3 separate regions of the Homo sapiens genome follow, and regions 2 and 3 are each linked to region 1. The links are contacts of gene promoters, found by promoter capture Hi-C in blood cells and fetal thymus (Javierre and others, 2016). All regions are on one chromosome and are shown on one strand. The core of a region is centred on a gene start or on the middle of the fragment in contact, and the rest is flanking DNA. Distances in the headings are between cores, read along the strand shown.

The links. The method cuts DNA at HindIII sites, captures the fragments that hold promoters and counts their contacts. A CHiCAGO score of 5 or more calls a contact.
Region 2: a contact is called between a fragment that was not itself captured here and the fragment with the promoter of RPL30 in region 1, in 3 of 17 cell types (fetal thymus, activated CD4 T cells and total CD4 T cells). The highest score is 6.7, in fetal thymus.
Region 3: a fragment that was not itself captured here is called in contact with the fragment with the promoter of RPL30 in region 1 in 3 of 17 cell types (fetal thymus, naive CD8 T cells and naive B cells); the score reaches 7.8 in fetal thymus.

What each region holds. Positions count from the first base shown.
Region 1 is chr8:98,043,817-98,047,124 of GRCh38, forward strand. It overlaps RPL30 (ribosomal protein L30), which reads right to left and starts at 1,729. Exons shown (of 5, transcript NM_000989.4): 1 at 1,692-1,729; 2 at 1,531-1,583; 3 at 1,127-1,272. The coding sequence starts at 1,551. RefSeq lists enhancers at 1,661-1,810, 1,877-2,813, 1,981-2,040, 2,061-2,110. The HindIII fragment of the contact is 12,210 bases long and covers 1-2,238 here.
Region 2 is chr8:97,677,144-97,680,537 of GRCh38, forward strand. All of the region lies in intron 2 of MTDH (metadherin), which reads left to right. Among named protein-coding and RNA genes, the nearest start is that of MTDH, 35 kb to the left of the region's middle. RefSeq lists a silencer at 1,355-1,555. The HindIII fragment of the contact is 760 bases long and covers 965-1,724 here.
Region 3 is chr8:97,578,493-97,582,056 of GRCh38, forward strand. No RefSeq gene overlaps it. Among named protein-coding and RNA genes, the nearest start is that of MTDH, 64 kb to the right of the region's middle. The HindIII fragment of the contact is 4,555 bases long and covers 1-3,564 here.

The DNA.
Region 1 (3,308 bases), core at 479-2,978:
AAAAAAACACCTCAAGCCGGGCACGGTAGCTCACACCTGTAATCTCAGCAGTTTGGGAGGCCGAGGTGGGTGGATCACCTAAGGTCAGGAGTCCGAGACCAGCCTGGCCAGCATGGCGAAACCCCATCTCTACTAAAAATACAAAAATTAGCCAGGCATGGTGGCAGGTGCCTGTAATCCCATCTACTCGGGAGGGTGAGGCAGAATTGCTTGAACCTGGGAGGCAGAGGTTGCAGTGAGCTTAGATTGTGCCATTGCACTCCAGCCGGGGTGACAAGAGCAAAACTCTGTCTTAAAAAAAATAAAATAATAAATGGCACCTCGGGCCCCATCCCAGATCCAATGAAATCAGAACTTGCATTTTAACATCACCCATGTGACTCCTTTGCACAGTCATGTTTCAGAAGCACTACTATAGAAGACAGGCTTTAAAGAAAGTTTCAAAGAATGGTTAGGGAAAAGCCGAACCCATGGGACAAGACAGAAAGGGCCCTCCAGGCTTTGACGGTAACTACAGACACCCTATATAAAATGCTGTAAGCAGCTTATGCATCACCACAGAAAATTTGCTCACATAGCTTATACTCTGCAAGGTCCAAGTTTGTTTGGCTTATTTACAACACCCCCTAAGTTCAATTTCAAAACAGTGAGTCAAGCATAAATCTTGACTCAGAACTGATTTAGCGGGCTAAACTAGGTGATTCTATGATAGCCTGCAACTCCATAGCCCAGCCTCAACTTTTCTTACCTAGTTTTTTGACACTAAAACAAGTTCACACAATGAAGCATCATTAAAGCACCTCAAAGCTAAAAGAACCAAAAAAGCAGGACACAAAATACATGGAAAAAACAGTAATGTGTCTGTGTTTCCATTAAACCTCGATGTTCTGTTTTCACTCCTGCCACACACACACATTTCTCCTCCAAAAATAAGCTCACAGAAGGGGAGCACACGATTTGGGGGTGGGTCGGGGAGACGGGAATGAAGGGCCAAACACCACAATCGCTACCGTAATTATCCTGCAAGTGTTCGAGTTCATGGTACTCAGATTACAAGTTTACACTCCTGTATATTCGTTCACGATGAATTCGCGGTAGGCGAAGCCCGTTCAGTCTCTTCGATTACCTCAAAGCTGGGCAGTTGTTAGCGAGAATGACCAATTTCGCTTTGCCTTGTCTGATCATCTTCAGAGTCTGCTTGTACCCCAGGACGTACTTCCCACTTTTCATAACGAGTTGGAGCCTAGAGTTGATCGACTCCAGCGACTTTTTCTACAAAGCAAACATTAAATACGGACCTAAGGGCCTCGCCTGCAACCGCCTCAAAACCGGACCCAGCTTTTTGAAGCCGAGCCCCTTAAACTTCCGAAGTCGAGGACCCCAAGTCATTGAGAGGGCCACTGGGATTCCTTCTGGGGCCCTCCAAATGCCAGCAGGCATGCTGTCACCCCCGTGGGCTCACATCTGCCCGCCCTGGCCAAGACATCTCTCCACGTGAATCGTCTTCCGGGCCTGGCCCGCCTCACTCACCGTCTTCTTTGCGGCCACCATCTTCCTGCCTTAGGAGCGGGACGGCCCCCAACCTAGAAGAGACAGAGAACAGGACAGGAATTTTAGGATCCGGAGTTACAAATGGCAACCCGCAAAGCTCCCCGCGCTGCCTAAACCTCGGTCGGTAGGAGCCCACTCACCAACAGCAGCCGCTAAGATGGCCGGGGAACGAGAAAGGAAAGACTTCCCACAATGCAAAGCTCTTCACGGCAGAGCCGGAACTGCGGGACCGGAAGCGGAAACAGATCGCAAGCAGAAGGGGCGGAGCAAAAGCGGAGGGCAGCTGCCGGTTGCTATTGGTACCGCTAGCTAGAATGGCTGCGGGGGCCGTACGCGGCTGCTCATACCTTTAATCCCAGCACTTTCGGAGGTTGAGGCGGGAAGATCTGTTGCGTCCAGCTCAAGGCCAGCCTGGACAACATAGACCACCCCTGTCTCTACAAAAAAATAAAAAAGAAATAAAAAAGAAATTAGCCGGGCGTGGTGGCGCGCTCCAGTAGTCCTAGCTACTCCCAGCTACGCCGGAGGCTGAGGCGGAGAGGTCGCTTGAGCTCGGTAGGTCGAGGCTGCAGTGAGCCATGATCGCGCCACTGCACTCAGCCTGGGCGACAGAGTGAGACTCTGTCTCAAAGAAGGAAAAAAAAGAATGACGGCGGGGGTGTTCTTTTCCCCCTCTGCGGGCCTTTAAGCTTCGCGGCGTTGTGTTGCTGTTCTGCTGCGAGCTGCGGTCTAACTAATCGAGGCGCTTAGAACCCGGAGGGAGTTCGAAAAGCCGACTGAAGGTGAGGTGGGAGGGTAGATGAGAAGAGGCTGCGGCGGCTGCGACCACGGTCTCAATGCCGCTGAATTCATCTTTGTCCTGAGGCGCGGCTCTTGGAGAGCCTTGTGGGTGACTCCGATGCGCCGCAGCACCCGCATTTACTCTCCGCTTGGTAGAAGCAGCTGTGTCCTCACCCCTGCGGTCACCCAAGTTACCTGTCCCCTGGAGAACGGTGGCGCCCTGCTCGAGTTTCCCAAAACTCGCCTTTTGTGACTGTGTTAGCGTGAACTTGTGAGCCGAGTTTGCACTGAGAGCGCGATAAACAGGTCTAATTTTTTAAAAGTATTTTTGCTGTTAACGTTGGATCTTGGTATAAATGTCCAGAGACAGACCACTGAAGATATTAGGCGCTGAAAATCCCCACCTAATCAATCAGACCAGTGGATAAGCTATATGAGGGAAACCTCTTCCCCTCCTTAATTAAGCCTCACCAAAAAACGCGTGCTGTACCAGGAATCATTTACATATATTTATTTAATACTCACAAAAGTCCCATGAGATAGTAACCTTTTTATTGTCCATTTTACATATCTAGGCCTATTGTCAGAGCTAGGACCAGAGCCCAGGTAACTTAGGTCTCTTCACAATTAAAGTTGATTCAGGCCGAATGCGGTGACTCACGCCTGTAATCCAAACATTTTGGAAGTCCGAGGTGAGCGGATCACCTGAAGTCAGGAGTTCGAGACCAGTCTGGTCAACATGGTGAAACCCCACCTCTACTAAAAATACAAAAAGTAGCCAGGTGTGGTGGCTCCTGCCTGCAATCCCAACTACTTGGGAGGCTGAAGCAGGAGAATCGCTTGAACCTGGGAGGCAAAGGTAGCAGTGAGCTGAGATCGGGCCACTGCACTCCAGCCTGGGCGACAAAGCGAGACTCCCTCTCAAAAAAAGTAATAAGGCCGGGCGCGGTGGCTCACGCCTGTAATCCCAACACTTT
Region 2 (3,394 bases), core at 95-2,594, 370 kb before region 1:
CTGCACTCCAGCCTGGGCAACAGTAAAAGCCTGTCTCAAAAAAAAAAAAAAAAAAAAAAAAAAAAAAAGGCCGGGCGCAGTGGCTCATGCCTGTAATCCCAGCACGTTGGGAGGCCGAGGCAGGTGGATCACAAGGTCAAAAGTTCGAGACCAGCCTGGCCAAGATGGTGAAACCCCGTCTCTACTAAAAATAAAAAATTAGCCGGGCATGGTGGCAGGTGCCTGTAGTCCCAGTTACTCGGGAGGCTGAGGCAGGAGAATTCCTTGAACCTGGGAGGCGGAGGTTGCAGTGAGCTGAGATCATGCCACTGCACTCTAGCCTGGGCGACAGAGCGAGACTCCATCTCAAAAAAAAAAAAAAGAAAGAAAGAAAGAAAAGAAAAAGGAAGTGGACACTATTATTTCTAGTAAGAACTCTATCAGCTACATCACCATGAAGTTATGATGATTTAATCAGATGTTATATAAATTGATCCAGATAGTGAAATCATCAAGAAGGGGTTTTGAAATAACAATATGTTTATACTTTTGGTATTTAAAATAAAAACTTTGCCTAATTATACTGTGCCTTGAAATTTTAGCTAATGGTATTCTGAAACTATTCTAATTTAGCAAGATATCTAAGCATTCAGAATGTAAAAACTGGCATTTCTAGTTTTTTTGGAGGTATTTATTTATGCATTATTCTATATGACAAAATTTTACTGAATTTAATTATAAATGACTGGATGCATTTCTTGAGGGTTTCTTATTTAAATAGAGAAAGAAATACTATGGGGAAACACTTGTTCCTCTGCCATGGTAATTAGCAAAAAACAATATTACAGCCAATCAAAATGCATTCATTCATTAGCATATACTGTTTGATGCAGCATAAAAATGTTGCTAATGATATTAAATAAATTAGTACCAGAGCAAATTTCCCAGCCTGGTAGGGATAATGTACAGATGTTTCTAACATTAAAGCTTGGGAGTACTTGCTAGATTCTATTTCAGTAATGAAACACATGAAGAACCACTTTTGTGAGCAATTAAAGAGATATCCACAAAGATATATTCTCAACTGTAAATCACTTATTTAACTTTTTTGAATGTTTGTGGAAAAACTAAACAAAAACCACTGATGGACGGCTTTGACTGGAATTAAAAAAATAAATGGAGAGTTAGGGAGAGATACCACCATGTGTGAAATTTATTTACTACATTATTTCTAGAAAACTATGATGACAAAAGAGATTAATGCCAGATGGCAAATTGGAAGACCTTCAAATTACAGTAAGGGTGAAGGTGATAATCATCTTTTATGATGCAAAGATTTTACAAGAGGATTCATTGACTCTATTATAGCAAAATACTTTGATAAAGCTGAACAACTTTTAAAAGCGAGTCATACATTTTTTCTCCTTTCTCCCTCTTTCTCTCTCTGTTTCCTTTGCTTCCTTCCTTCCTTCTTTTTTTTTTTTTTTTTTTTTTTTGAGAGAGAGACAGAATTGCTTAGTCACCCAGGCTGGTCTCGAACTCCTGGCCTCAAACAATCCTCCCACCTCAGCCTCCCAATATTTCGGGATTACAGGCATGAGCCACCTTGACTGGCCTATTTTTCTTTTATGAAAAATGAAGTGTTCCAAGTCTGTTTATCTTTTTTATAAAGATAAATGGTTGTCTGCTTACCAGATACTTTTACAAAGAATTTATACTGAATCTGCCCCTTCACGCTTAAGGAAAGCTTACTTAACAAGATGTCAGAAAATAGCCAATTTTTGAAAGAAACTCATGCAATGAAGAGTGTATTCTGACAAACTTACATCATTGCATGATTTGTTATTAAAGAGCGTTTGTACGTTAGATGTGAAAATCCTCATATCTGCCCAGCTTGGGAGCAATTTTCTAACAGAAAAATAGCCTAACAGCCCAGATTCCAGAGCACGAGTACATGGGATCCAATTCCAGTTCTAACACTTGACTAATGATGTGATTTGGGGGTTGGTTAGTAATCACTTGTGCCTCCCTTTTCTTATCTACAAAATGGATAGAATAGCATTTACCTAGGGTTACTTTGAGAATTTAAATGGAACTATGTAAGTAATAGCTATAAACCAGATGTAAAATTTTGTCTTTTTAGTGAATTCACTTGTTAAAAATACAAAAAAAAATTATCTCACCCATGGTAATAACAAGAACAAAATGATGATGATGATAATAGTAATAATAATAATAAAGTAGAAAGTACCAAAAACTGTAGAACTTTCTGATCTACAGTTCAATACAGAAACAATGTATTGATGTTAAAGATTAAAATTTACTGGCTGAATTTTCACAAAAACTTTTGCATAGTTGGAGAATTAGGTTGAAAAATTAGTGTCGTATTTCAGTAAGCATGGCCAATCATGTGTCTTCCATTTTGATCTTCTTACTTTTTCAAGTATAACAATATTTAATACCAGATATTAAAATGAATGCATTTAGAAGATATTCGAAAGAATGAAGCATGTGCATTGATATTGCTATCACTAAAAATAGTTATATTTTACAAATGTATACACTATCAGTGTAGTAGAATGTGTATAAAATTTATAAACAAATATCTTGGGGTATATGCTCAATTTTTTCCCATGGAAGTATGAGAACAACAAGCTTATTTAACCCGCTGTTACAAGAGTGATAGCAGACCCCTTTATCTGGCATATTTACTCAGGTATTTAAGTGAGTTACCATATGTTCCATATATTGATTAGCAATTGAGTATTGGCACTGCTTATTTACTTATTTTGAGTAACTCCTAATAAGATACTAGAATTTTTGGAACTTATTCGTCATAATTTCCTAAGGAATTATCAATCTGTCTTATTCAGTATATATCTTTGGCAGTTTTAGAAAGTTGTAATGGTGGATCTAATGATTATTTATCAAAGCCTTTTCGTCATCTAGTTTTTTTGTTTGTTCGTTTGAGACAAGGTCTTGCTCTGTCGCCCAAGCTGGAGTGCAGTGGTGCAATCTTGGCTCACTGCAACCTCGACCTCCTGGGCTCAAGTGATCCTCCCACCTCAGTCTGCCGAGTAGCTAGGACTACAGGTGTGCACCACCATGCCCAGCTAATTTTTTATTTTTTGTAGAGACACAGTTTTGCCGTGTTGCCCAGGCTGGTCTCAAACTCCTGGCCTCAATCGGTCGGCCCACCTCAGCCCCTCCAAAGTGCTGGGATTACAAGCATGTACCACCGCACCCAGCTCATCATCTAGATTTAAAAGAATGGAGCCATTTGCTGTTCCACGTGCAAATATTGTTTGTAGTCCCAATGAATATGTATTCATTGTCATTTAACTCATTCCTCTTTTAGGAGTGTTATGGTGTGTGTATGTATACATGCACATACATGTGCACACATGCCTATACA
Region 3 (3,564 bases), core at 251-2,750, 470 kb before region 1:
GGTTCTATTTTATTCAGTGGATTTTAATCCATTCCTATCAAGCTGGCTTCTGCATCCTTTGGCACAACAAGATATTTCAGGCTCATCCTGTGCTTCCCTACTCAAACCCTGTATCAGCCACTTCTCCAAGGGGTCCTGGATCCTTTTAGTGGAGAATGGTACTTAAAAATCAAGACCTCAGTGCTAGATTTGCTCATTGCTCTTGATGTGTACTACACTCAGGCCCTCAAAAGGAGCAAAGCTAGGGAGCATACATATGCACACGCATACACACACACACGTACACACACACACACACACATATCTATATTGATTCCCATATCTACCCATCTGTGTATACTGAAAACTATGAACTCACGGTAATATCTCCAATTCCAAACTCTAACAGTAGAGAGCTCATCAGTTTTCTCCCTTTCCATATTTTCACTTCCTTCTGTGACAGTGAGAAACTTTGCTCCTACTCTCCTCCATATCTTGACATATTGGAGCACTACTATATGTAATATCCCACCTTGTAGGCCCTGACACCCCCCTGCCAGGTTGCCCTCCCCTAGGCAGGCCCCTCTCACCCTATTCGGACTCCCACACCCAGCACCAGGCTGCTGATTCCCCTCATCTAAAGCCCTCCTCACCCCACCTGGCCTCTGATGCCACATGCTGGGCTACCATAGGAATGTGCATCCCACCTTGCTTGGTATCTGACACCCGTGCCAGGCCCCCATCAGCCCCTCGTGTGCATGCCTTTCTCACTCTGCATGGCTCCAACACCCCGCCCTGGTCTTCCTCCCTGCATGCCTCCGCACCTGAACTTGTTCAGACACTGATACCCTACCTTTTGTCACTGACCTGCCCAACCCCATCTAATAATGGCTTTTGAAATGGATTGTTCTGGAAGGAAACAGAAGGGAAAACAGATAAGAAAAAAGAATAGGACAACATTCTTCTTTAAATGCTAACTATGATTTCAAAGCTGTTTTTGAAAAATATTCTGTAAAAAGTGGTATGTCCCTTTTAAGTAAAGCTGTTTATAAAAGTTGTGTATTATTTAGGGACAACTCAAACAAACGAAATGCTATCATTTAAATTTAGGAACATGGAAGCAATATATAAGAAACTCAAGATGCAATAGTGGCTGAGAACAGAAATGTTTCCCTTTTTAGGTTATGTAGAAATTGGATTCTTTTTGTTCAGGAGAAAGGAGGTTTTGTTGTCATCAGAGTGAATGTGGGGTTGATCATCTGCAGTCTCTCTTTCTGCTTTGAAGAGAATACAGGGGAATCAGGGAAGGTGGCAGCCTCCCAAGACAGTAAGGAGGCTAGGAGGATACACTTAGGTTTACCTTTTATTAGCTTGGCTAATGCCACATGCAAATGAGGCATCCAGGCAGCTGGGAGAAGTGGAGGTGCCCAAAACTGGCCTGAAGTCCCAAAGTGTGTTCCTTCTTCAGGAGAGTCCTGACTCCAAGATAAGACTTTGAAGTGAATTATAAAGATTAGGACTGGTAGGCTGCGTGTGGTGGCTCATGCCTGTAATCCCAGAGCTTTGGGAAGTCAACACAGACAGACCACCTGAGCTCAAGAGTTCAACACCGGTCTGGGCAACATAGCAATACTCCGTCTCTACAAAAAATACAAAAATTAGCCAGGCACGGTGGTATGCACCTGTAGTCCCAGCTACTCAGGAGGCTGAGATGGGAGGATGGCTTGAACCCTGGAGGCAGAGGTTGCAGTGAGCCGAGATTGTACCATTGCACTCCAGCCTGGGTGACAGAGCGAGACCCTGTATCAAAAAATAAATAAATAAATAAAGAGTAGGACTAGCTATTTTATCAGGGTTACTTTACATCAGAACTGATAAAATATTAAAGACTGAATCCAACTATTAGGAAAGTTACCAAATTATACTATGGTGTTTCTTTTTTTTATGCTAGATATACGTTTAAATTTCTGCTTTCAGCCATGATAGACTAGATTACACCCAACCAACTCTTCTACCAGGAACAACTAGAAAAGTTGGATAAAATACAAAAGTCATTTGTTTAAAAGCATCAGAAAACTACAAAAATAGCCAGGAATTAAGAGCTCAAGATCCTGACTTTGAGTTCCCCCTGAAGCAGATCCCCAGGGAAGGATTTGAACATAAGGAGGTGATGTCAGGAAGCATTATTAGGGAAGTGAGGAAGAGAAACAAGAAAGATAAGACAGCCAAAAAAAGCTGGTTCTTAAACAAACTGCCACTGTGAGTAACTGGAGCTTGAGTCCACTGGGGAAATCAAGGAGACCTTTTTCCTCAGAGTTATCCCACCCAAAGGGCAAGGGGATCTGCGGCATTTATGATCCAATTGCATTTTATTGGGTCTTCTTGACCATGATAGCAAAACTAGATAATGATACTGCAAAAAAGAAAAATTGTAGGCCATTCTCTCTTATGAACATAGATGCAAAAATCTGAAACAAAATATGAGCCAATCAAATATGGCTATATGCTATATATCCCATCGAGACTGGGCTTATTCCAAGAACACAAGACTGGCCAGGCAAGGTGGCTGACGCCTGTAATCCCAATAATTTGGGAGGCTGAGGTGGGTGGATCACTTGAGCCCAGGACTTCAAGACTAGCCTGGGCAAAATAGCGATACTCTGTCTCTACAAATAATACAAAAATCAGCCAGGCATGGTGGTACGTGCCTGTAGTCCCAGCTACTCAGGACACTAAGGTGGGAGGATGGTTTGAGCCTGGGAGGCAGAGGCTGCAGTGAGCCGAGATCGCACCACTGCACTCCAGCCTGGGCAACAAAGCGATACCCTGTCTCAAAAACTAAAATAAAATAAAATTTAATTTAAAAATATATTTTTAAAAAAACAAAAGTGGAGCAAAAGGCTAATTTATACTTAAAAATCAATCAATGTGATTTTACCATATGAATAAAATAAAGGAGAAAATTATATGATCATCTACATAAGATGGTATTTAATATTCAGTGTGGATATTTATTAAATATTTCTCTCTTCTTCTGAGACAGGGTCTCACTCTGTCACCCAGGCTGGGGTACAGTGGTGTGATCTCGGCTCACTGCAGCCAGGACCCTTCAGGCTCAAGAGATCCTCCCATTTCAGCCTCCTGAATAGCTGGGACTACAGGCACATGCCACCACACCTAGTTATTTTTATTTTTTAAAAGAACAATATGTGTTCATTTCCACTCAGCTAATTGCATGGCTTATTTTAAATATAATAGGTAAAATGACCAGGGTACAAAAGTAGCACACATTAATTATAAAATCAAGTTTTAAGGGGCTTGGGTGGCCAGGTGTGGTGGCTCACACACACCTGTAAGCTCAGGAGTTCAAGACCAGCCTGGGCAACATGGCAAAACCTCATCTCTACAAAAAATACAAAAATTAGCCAGGCATCGTGGTGGGTACCTGTAATCCCAGATACTCAGTAGCCTGAGGTAGGAGGATCACTTGAGCCCAGGGAAGTCAAGGCTGCAGTGAGCCGAGATCGTGCCACTGCACTCCAGCCTGGATGACAGAGTGAGACCCTGTCTCAAAATAAATAAATA